3 separate regions of the Homo sapiens genome follow, and all the other regions are linked to region 3. The links are contacts of gene promoters, found by promoter capture Hi-C in blood cells and fetal thymus (Javierre and others, 2016). All regions are on one chromosome and are shown on one strand. Each heading gives the region's core, a stretch centred on a gene start or on the middle of the fragment in contact. The rest is flanking DNA. Distances are from core to core; before and after follow the strand shown. Region 1 has its middle 23 kb from the start of LINC02890. Region 2 has its middle 51 kb from the start of LINC02890. Region 3 holds the start of HS3ST2 (heparan sulfate-glucosamine 3-sulfotransferase 2).

Region 1 (3,028 bases), core at 420-2,919, 180 kb after region 3:
AAGCACTGTGAAGACATACAGTTGGGCAACTTTTTTTTTTTTTTTGGCCTCACTGTACCTAACCTACTGACTGGTTTGTAGTAGACCTTCAAGGATATTTATTGGCTGGTTCACATCTATAATCCCAGCACTTTGGGAGGCCGAGGTGGGAGAATTGCTTGAGCCCAGGAGTTTGAGACTAGCCTGGATGACATAGGGAGACCCTGTCTCTAAAAAAAAAAAAAAAAAAAATACAAAAAGTTAGCTGTGCATTGTGGCATGCAGCTGTGATCCCAGTTACTTAGGAGGCTGAGGTGGGAGGATCATCTGAGCCTGGAGGTCGAGGCTGCAGTGAGCTATGATCGCGCCACTGCATTCTGGCCCTATTTACTGCTATTGATACATGTTATTTGCAAAGGGATCCTCCTCCCTGGTTACTACCACAATTGTCACTGCATGGTTAGTGCTTGGACAATACAGAGCCTATTACTGGAGGCTTGAACAGGACTGGGGTGAGAAATACTCTCCCATCTTAAGGGGCAGAAATTATTTGTCTGCCTGTTTGTCACAATGGGCATGGCTTTTACAGACCTCTCTCATCCTTAATATTTTTATCTACTCTTTTCTGATAACAAATATTATTCCCTTTTCACCTAGAATGTTTGTCACAGGACAAAAACTCTTTACCCATCCCATATGCTTCGTGCCAGACATTAGAAACCATCTTTGCTCTTAGCAGCTTCCCTGTGTCAGGAAGCCAAAGTGCCTCCAGCCAGATGAAAGTCTTCAGTATCCTGATGATTGGTCAGTGTATGGTTAATGAGGGTGATCCAAACCAACGTCATAAGAAAATCCCTCCAATTCCAGTGGTTTTGCTTATTTCTCATGCACATAAAGCACAGTGGGGGTGTATCTGATCAACAGGCAACTTTCTTCCACACAGTGATTCAGGGACCCAGGCTCTTTCCATCTTACAGTTCCACTTTTCCCTAAAGCTTTGGGATTATCTGCACTCCGCTGGCAGAGAAGGAAAGAGAAATAAAGAAGGAAAGAGGGTACCCACTTCTTAAAAAAAAAAAATCCTGACCTAACACATGGACGTAAAGATGGGAACAACAGACATTGGGGAATACAAAATGGAGGAGGGGCGAAGTGGGGCAAGATTTGAAAAACTACCTATTGGGTACTATCCTCACTACCTGGGTGACAGACTCATTTGTACTCCAAACTTCAGCATCACACAATACACTTTTACAATAAACCTGCACATGTACCTCTAAAATAAAAGTTGGGGGGAAAAAAAAGAAGAGAAACTCTCACAAAACATAAATAAATAAGTAAAGCTAACCCAGAGGTAACACACATCACTTCTGCTCGTGTTCCTGTGATGAGAACTAATCACATGACTCCCTGCTGATGTGAGGGAAACTGGGAAATGGCATTGCTGGCCTAGAAGTTGCCTCACAGCAACCACTTCATGCTGTAGAAAGGGGATCAGGAATTTTTCGTGGATAGCTAGTCATCTGCCACAGCCAATGAATTGCAAAGGACTCAGATGATCTTCTACTTAGAATTAGAAAATCATCTAATGAGACTCTTAAGAAATCTCCAGGCCAGGCGCCATGGCTCACACCTGTAATCCAAGCACTGTGGGAGGCCGAGGCAGGTGGATCACTTGAAGTTAGGAGTTCAAGGCCAGCCTGGGCAACATGGTGAATCCTGCCTCAACTAAAAATATGAAAATTAGCCGGGCGTGGTGGTGCATGCCTGTAGTCCCAGCTACTCAGGAGGCTGAGGCAGGAGAATTGCTTGAACCTGGGAGGTGGAGGTTGCAGTGAGCTGAGATTGTGCCACTGCACTCCTGCCTGGGTGACAGAGTGAGACTCTGTCTCAAAAAAGAAAAAAAAACACAACATTTTCAGATGTATTTATTTTAATAGACAGGATCTCACTCTGTCACCCAGGCTGGAGTGCAATGGTGGGATCAGAGCTCACTGCAGCCTTGAACTCCTGGGCTCAATCAATCCACCTCCTTTAGTCTCCCAACTAGCTGGGACTACAGACGGGTGCCACTATGCCTAGCTATTTTTTTTCTTTTAGAGAGTTCAGGTCTTGCTATGTTGCCCAGGCTAGTCTCAAGCTCCTGGCCTCAAGCATTCCTCCTGCCTTGGCCTCCCAAAGTGCTGGGATTACAGGTGTGAGCCACCACATCCAGCCTATTCTTTCCAAGTCTCTTAACACTCCTGTTCCCTGTCACAGGATATAGGTTTTTATGCCAATGGGTAAAGACTTCGAACTGGGAGGGGATTATGCAGTGTGACAAGGTTATAACCTACATAAACCTTTAAATTAGGCTTTAAGCGTGGTCTGCTGCCATAAAGCTTGTGGGCATCGGGAAGCCAAGAAAGCATCCTACTATTCTTTGACTGAAATTAATCTCCATTCTCTATGTGACTGCTCTTCACCGGGGCATCGTGGTGCTATGATCAGCCACACTTCCTGTCCTTGAAGTCCGAATCAAGCCTGTGAAGGAAGCCTGGAGTAAACTCCCAGGACACATGTCTAATACAGCTATTTTCTTTTTTAAAATATAAGCAACTGCTATGGTTCCATAATGAACATTTTTATTTTTAAAGTACTTTATTTCATAGGGAAGAAATGTAATGCATTCTTTTCCCCCAAAATAATAAAGAAAATTGCTACTGGGAAAGGTTTGGCATTTGAAACCTAGTGGGAGATTTCTCCAGCAGATGGTTTAGTGGCAAAAAGCTTTTAAGAATTTCTGACTGCTAGAGAAAAAGGGAGAGGGAAGGTGGGGGTTGGGGGGAGATTGATTTGATGTGATAAAGAAAAGATGTATCCAAAGAAAGCAATTCTTATTCAAGTTCTGATGACTCAAATGATCCATAGACTAGATCACAGATTCCAAAGCCTGACTGTGCATCAGAATAGCACGGGAAGCTCGTTTAAAATACCAATGGAATCAGAATATCTGTGGGTGGTGACCAGACATGCATATGTTTTCAAGCTCCATAGGTGATTCTGTTGA
Region 2 (3,058 bases), core at 499-2,998, 150 kb after region 3:
CACCAGTCAGCCCCACTGTATGTAGGGAGACCATGAGGGACTCTTCTCACATTGCTACGTGAGCAGAATCCTCATCTGTCTGACATCTGCTGAAAACACAAGCAAAAGACACTCTGAGGCCTGATGTCTTCCGACGGTTCATTGAAGTTGCAGTTGTTACTTTCCCTTGAACTGTGCAAACGCTTGGTGTGCTCGGGTTGATTTGGTGCTTTTTGTATATTGCTCATCTGGCAGAGAATTACTACTCTGCTCTACAAGTTCCCACAGATGGCTTTATTTTCCATTGCTATTAAATTGGTTTTGAACAAGACATAATTCTTCAAGTGCCTGGTGTGCTCTCTGGGTTTGCTCAGGCAAGATTCCATAAAAATGTAAATAATCGGAACACTTCTGGGATTATTTATCACAACTGACTTGTGGCTGTAAATTTATGTATTAATTTCAGCTATAAGCTTCAGTGGGGAAAAGATGAACCATTGAAAATAGTCTCTTCCACCCTAACATCCTCGCTATGTCCCCATTTCCCCTCTGCTTCCAGGGAACGTACCAGAGAATGGCTCACACATCTGGGTCTGAACGACATTGAACAGGCTCGAAAAGGAACCAGGTGGTAAGTGGGGAATAATCACTCCTCAGCAACCCACAGGCTCATCACTTACTGCTCTCCCCTGGGTCTTCGGACCCCAGTCACACCAGCCTTTCACTTGCTCCTGTGGATTCCTGCCCCAGGACCCTTGCACATGCACCCCAGGCTTGTAATGCTCCTTCTTCCCTTTTATGCCTGGTTCACTCTTACTCATCCTTCAGCTCTTGGCTCAGCGTCACTTGTTTGGAGAAGCTTCATCCCCGCCCACCTGCTAGACGAGGTCTCCTCCCAGGTGTTCTTCTCATCCACAGCGCTACTCACAATCACAGTTCCTCATTTTGGGAGGATTTTTAAAACTTAATGTCTGTCTCCCCTACTTGGCTGTAAAAATTTCATGAGGGTTAGGGCTGTGTCTTTGTCGCCTGCATGCCCAGAGCCTGGCACAGAGTTGAAGATGGATGAATGTGTGCAGAACAAACTAATGGATCCACTTGGAATAAGAGCACATAGCAGGGCTCTTGGGGCCTCTGCCCACACGCACTCAGACCACGCTCTGCACACAGCTCCTTGTGTGCTTTCTCTTAGCCAGCACCTGCATGTTGGCAGAGGGCTGCTCTCACTTTGCCTGTGTGTGCTGAGACTGGAGTGCCTGGGAATTTGCACTCCCCTTGGAGGCCAGCCCTTAACCAATTAGTGGTGAAGGCAGGCTTAGAAGCATGCCAGCTGGCCGGGTGGAATGGCTCATGCCTGTAATCTCAACACTTTGGGAGGCCAAGGCAGGAGGATCACTTGAGGCCAGGAGTTCAAATCCAGCCTGGGCAACACAGCAAGACCCTATCTCTACAAAAAAAAAAAATTAAAAATAGCCGGACATGGTGGTGAGTGCCTATAGTCCCAGCTATTTGGGAGGCTGAGGCAAGAGAATTGCTTGAGCTCAGGAGTTTGAGGCTGCAGTGACCTATGATCGCACCATTGCAGTCCAACCTTGGTGACAGAGCAAGCCCCTGTCTCTGAAACATCACGCCAGCTCTCTTGTCTTGATCGGAAAACTGCAAGGAGCAGCCTGAACTCTCCCTGGAGCTGTCCTGGGGACTGAGCCACAGCAGTCCTCCTGTAGGACCTTGCTTGATCCAACACCCTTCTTGGCTTCTTCTCTTCTCCATTCTATTTTCCCACTCCCCTACTAGTGTTTCTGAGAACCCCTCATAATAAATCACTTTTACACAAATCCTCGTCTCAGCGTCTGCTTCCAGGGAGCCCAACCTAAAACAGAGAGTCTTCTGCCTGCAAATATTCTCACTGAGCTGTGATTAAGATCATACATTTTAGAGCATGCAAGCACTCTAACCAGACAGGCCATTTGCTGATTCAGACAAGGATAAAGTCCTGCTAGTAACACTGTAACTGGCAGGGCATATTCATGTCAACAAGCTAAGCCCCTCTAGTCTTGAACCTTCTCCCCGACTAGCCCAGTGCCCCACTGAGACAGCATGAGAAGTCTGTGCCACTGAGATCCCAACCAAACTGGACATTGGAGCTCAGCAGCAAGACTGACTTGGGGGTAAGCCAAGATCATCTTTAAGATGCTCCTGCTCCTTCTCAAGGTAGGTGAATAGCTAGAGCCCAGAAGCTCGAGACCAGCTTGGGCAACACAGTGAGATCCCATCTCTACAAAAAATAAAAAATTATCTGGGCATGGTGATGCACACCTGTTGTCCCAGCTACTTGGGAGGCTGAAGTAGGAGGATTGCTAGAACCTGGGAGGTGGAGGCTGCAGTGAGCCATGATTGTGCCACTGCACTCCAGCATGGGTAACACAGTAAGACCCTGTCAAAAAAAAAAGAAGAAGAAGAAGAAGAAGAAGAGGAAGAAGAAGAGGAAGAAGAAGAGGAAGAAGAGGAAGAGGAGGAAGAGGAGGAAGAGGAGGAAGAGGAGGAAGAGGAAGAAGAAGAAGAAGAAGAAGAAGAAGAAGAAGAAGAAGAAGAAGAAGAAGAGGAAGAAGAAGAAGAAGAAGAGGAAGAAGAAGAAGAAAAGATGTTATGTGCGACCAGGGCAGGGCAGAACCAAGCTTTTGGGTGGAGAGAAGGAGGTTCCTCTGACTAGAGGATCTTAGGGGGCTGAGGTGCAGGCTGTTAAGGTTTTTGTAGCAAGGATGTCTTCAGCTTTAGGACACAGACTACCTAATTTTAAAAAGGCTTACATAATAGAGACATGTTTATTGAAGGAATTGCTATAAAGCAAAATAACAGGGTGTTGTGGAAGAGAAAATCAGAAGTCAATGCAGATGGTGTTGGCAAAAGCCTCTCTAAGGAAGGTGCATTTAAATCAAGACCAGAAGATGGAGAGGGATCAGCTGTTTCACAAGAGCACAGTGGCCCCTAGAGATGTTCACGTCCCGATCACCAGAACCTGTGAACATGTAACCTCACATGGCAGTAAAGACTTTCTGGATGTGATTAAACTAAGAATCAT
Region 3 (3,300 bases), core at 381-2,880:
GATGAGAAAATAGAGGCTGATAGAGTTTAAGAAACTTGCTCAAGCTTAAGTGACAGACCCAAGACTCGAATCCAGGGCTCTTTCCACTACTCAAAGACCACCTACCAGGGCCAGAGCTACTGGGGGTCTCAGCCCCAGTACAGCAGCAAATACCTGGGTTTGAGATTGAGACTCCCTAAGGCATCTTTCTTACTGGAGACCTCTGGCGATGCACTGTCATTTGGCCTGAACTCTGGGGACCTTTCCCAAACAGAGCCTTGCTGCAAGGGGTCTCTGAACTGCCTTATCTTTCTCAGGGTCCTTCAGGGGCTGGGTACCAGCAAAGACCTACAGAGGGTTAGGATGGTGCCGTGTTCAGGCAGCACAGGTCCTCGCCTGTCCCTTCCTTGGGCACCCTAAGGGCTGGTCACAGAGGGAGTTAGCCCTTTAGCTGGCACTTAGGTTTGACTGGAGATAATCCTTTTCCAACGACTCCAGTGACGAGGGAACGCCCTTTGCAGTTCCAGAAACTGCCCGTCTAGATTATCACTGGGAAGTTCTGGGTAAATTCTGCTATAGCCCCCCATGGCCCTGTGTGTCAGCCTGAACCCATACAATGAGTTGGGTTAAAAGAAAGAGAAAACACAAGAGACGGATGGCTCTCCCAATGGAAGCGATCAGAGACCCGGCGCACGGAGCGGAGCTCCTGGTCCTTACCTGTACCAATCCAGCCCGCGGCCGTAGTTCCTGTCAAAGAAGTGGGGTTCCGTGCCCAAGGCCCGCACGTCCGGGTGTACTCGGATAAACTCCAGCACGGCCCGGGTGCCCCCCTTCTTCACGCCCACAATGAGGGCTTGGGGCAACCGCTTGGTACCCAGCTTGGGTGAGCCGGAGTGGTTGGAACCGGAGAGGCGAGGGGCGGGCACGGCGGCGGCGGGCGCGCTGGGAGCGCTGGGCTCGCTGGGCGTCGGCCCGGAGGGATCACAGGGGCGGGACTTCTGGAGAAGTTTCTGGCCGCCCGCGCTGGGGCCGCGGAGGCAGCGAGGCGCGCCGAGGAGGCGGCTCCGACCCAGGTCGTCGCAGCAGCACAGGAAGCTGTAACACAGGTAAGTGCAGGAGAGCGAGAGCGTGAAGGCGAAGAGCAGCCTGCGCGCCCTCCGCGGCTGAGGTGGCCCCGCGCGGCCCAGGACCCTATAGGCCATGGCTCCATGGGCCCGCGCCGGGGGTCATGGTTTCCGAGGGGGCACCGGCGGCTGAGCTGCTGTGGCCCTGCGGTCGCCTAGAGGGCTCGCGTGGCGCTGCCACGGCCACGCGGGTCGGGCGTTGGGGGCGCCGTCTTCTCCGGGGGCTGCTGACCAGGGTGCGCACAGTGCCAGGGGGTCCCGGGGGCAGCGGCTCCTCGGGGAACAGGCGGTTGCATTTCCAGCATCTCCCGGTCCTAGGCGATGGGGCTCCGGGCAGCCGGGCGGCTCGGGCGCTCCCAGGCTCTTACGTGCGCCGGGTTCGGAGCGCGCCCAGCGCCCGAAGCCCCATTCCTGATCCTCGGAGCGCCGCTCACGAAACGCTCGGCGGCGGCGCGGCTGTGCGGGCTGGCGGGTGGACCGGACGGTGGCGCTGGCGCCGGCCGCGATCTGGCTCTTCGGGAAATGCCGAGCGGAGCGCGCTGCCGGCTCTATTTAAGGAGTGGCCTGACGTCAGCCGCGCGGGTCCCCCGAGCCCGCGCCGCGCCCAGGGACCTGGCCCGCCCCCTGCGCCCCCACTCTCTTACCCCTCCCAGAAACACAGCACGCGGGCCCTCCCCATGCAGGCCACTCCCTACGGAGCCCCAGGCCAGCTTTGGGGCGGTGAAACGAAGGTGTCAAGGCATAGTACTCCTCCGGGAGGCTGGACACCCCCACCACGCTGGCCTCTCGACATCCAGGGACACGAATCCAGGTCGAGATCGCGCCGACATGCAGACCAGACAGACCCAGACGCAGACGCAGGCACCCTGCCCTGATGCGCGGTCCCACCACCCTGACCCGCACACGCACGCACAGGCACAGAAGCACACGCGCCCTAGCCCGGACACACCCCCACACCCACGCGGGGGTGGGGAGGAGAAGTCCCCTAACCTGGGCCCAGATACACCGACAAGGACACTCCCCCCGCTCTCGACATCTCGCCAAATGGACACACACAGCCCGGAATCGGACACCGAGCGCACGCACGCCCTGGACTGGGACACGCGCTGTAGACGGGATGGGTGGAGGAGCCGAGCGTGAGTGAGATTCCGTGACTATTCACCCAGCTTCTTAGCCCCCAGCGCGCTGACTCACACCCCGGCGGCTCGCTCTGTCTCGCACCTATGAGGCACGCGCGCACCCCAACCCATTGTCACCCCACCTCTCCCCGGGCCTGCCGGAGAGCGAGCCCCGGAGCGGCAGACTCCGCGTCAGGAGGGTTCCTCTCTTAGCAGCCGCCGCCTAGCGGTAGACTGCTCCCCGGGGAGCTGTCCAGGGTACCAGAGGGTCGCCGAGGGCTGAGTGAGGAGGGCTTCTTCACACAGAGACACTAGGAGGAGGAAACAGAGTACAAGGAGAACGTATCCAGGAGCAATTCCACTTCGAATGATTCCTAAGTGAATGCCTACAGGACAGTTCTCGGTGACCATGTCCAGAACAGGCATAAGTGACGATCCCCAGTACTTCCCTGAGGGACCACACTGGTACCTTGGATCAGAACCCTGCATCAGAACAGGCCTAAATGGCCATGGCTAAGAACACGGCTGAGTTGTCCTTCAACAGCAATGCCAATGCCAATTCACCATGTCCGAGTGTTCACAAGGTGAGTGCCCTCCACCACCACCCAGCCATAGAATGTCTAGATGACCACCATGACCCCCACCCTGATCAGGGTATAACTGACTTCCTTCCTCAGGCTGTAAACTGATCATTAGGTTCTGTGGATCTTAGCCCAAACCAGAAAATATTTTGTCCCCAAACTAGTCCCATCCCTAGAAACCTTAAACCAATTCTACGGCAGATAATAATAATAGCTGCCAACTTTGTATCAAGCACCTGGCATGGGTTAACTGATTAAATATTCACAACCTATGAAGTTGTTACCATTACCCTGGCATCACTTTGCTGTCTTAATTCTAATAGTAGCTAGCATTTATTGAGTGCTTGTTTTATGGGAGTTATGCGCTAATCACTTGACATGCACTACCTCATTTATCTTTGGAGATAGGTATTATTGTAATTTCTAATCTACAGGCAGTGATAAGAAGATTTAACAAACATATACACAGTAACTGGCAGAGCTGGGATTAAACCCGGG

Evidence for each region. Contacts are between HindIII fragments. The CHiCAGO score rates a contact against its expected background, and 5 or more counts as called.
Region 1: a contact is called between a fragment that was not itself captured here and the fragment with the promoter of HS3ST2 in region 3, in 2 of 17 cell types (M0 macrophages and M2 macrophages). The highest score is 6.6, in M0 macrophages.
Region 2: a fragment that was not itself captured here is called in contact with the fragment with the promoter of HS3ST2 in region 3 in 1 of 17 cell types (M0 macrophages); the score reaches 5.4 in M0 macrophages.

The regions. Positions count from the first base shown.
Region 1 is chr16:22,635,442-22,638,469 of GRCh38, reverse strand. No RefSeq gene overlaps it. Among named protein-coding and RNA genes, the nearest start is that of LINC02890, 23 kb to the right of the region's middle. RefSeq lists enhancers at 2,283-2,838, 2,839-3,028. The HindIII fragment of the contact is 1,386 bases long and covers 977-2,362 here.
Region 2 is chr16:22,662,533-22,665,590 of GRCh38, reverse strand. No RefSeq gene overlaps it. Among named protein-coding and RNA genes, the nearest start is that of LINC02890, 51 kb to the right of the region's middle. RefSeq lists an enhancer at 754-913. The HindIII fragment of the contact is 1,816 bases long and covers 841-2,656 here.
Region 3 is chr16:22,812,492-22,815,791 of GRCh38, reverse strand. It overlaps HS3ST2 (heparan sulfate-glucosamine 3-sulfotransferase 2), which reads right to left and starts at 1,630. Exons shown (of 2, transcript NM_006043.2): 1 at 697-1,630. The coding sequence starts at 1,181. It overlaps LOC107984851 (collagen alpha-1(XVI) chain), which reads left to right and starts at 933. Exons shown (of 4, transcript XR_001752349.2): 1 at 933-1,085; 2 at 2,528-2,805. The HindIII fragment of the contact is 5,471 bases long and covers 47-3,300 here.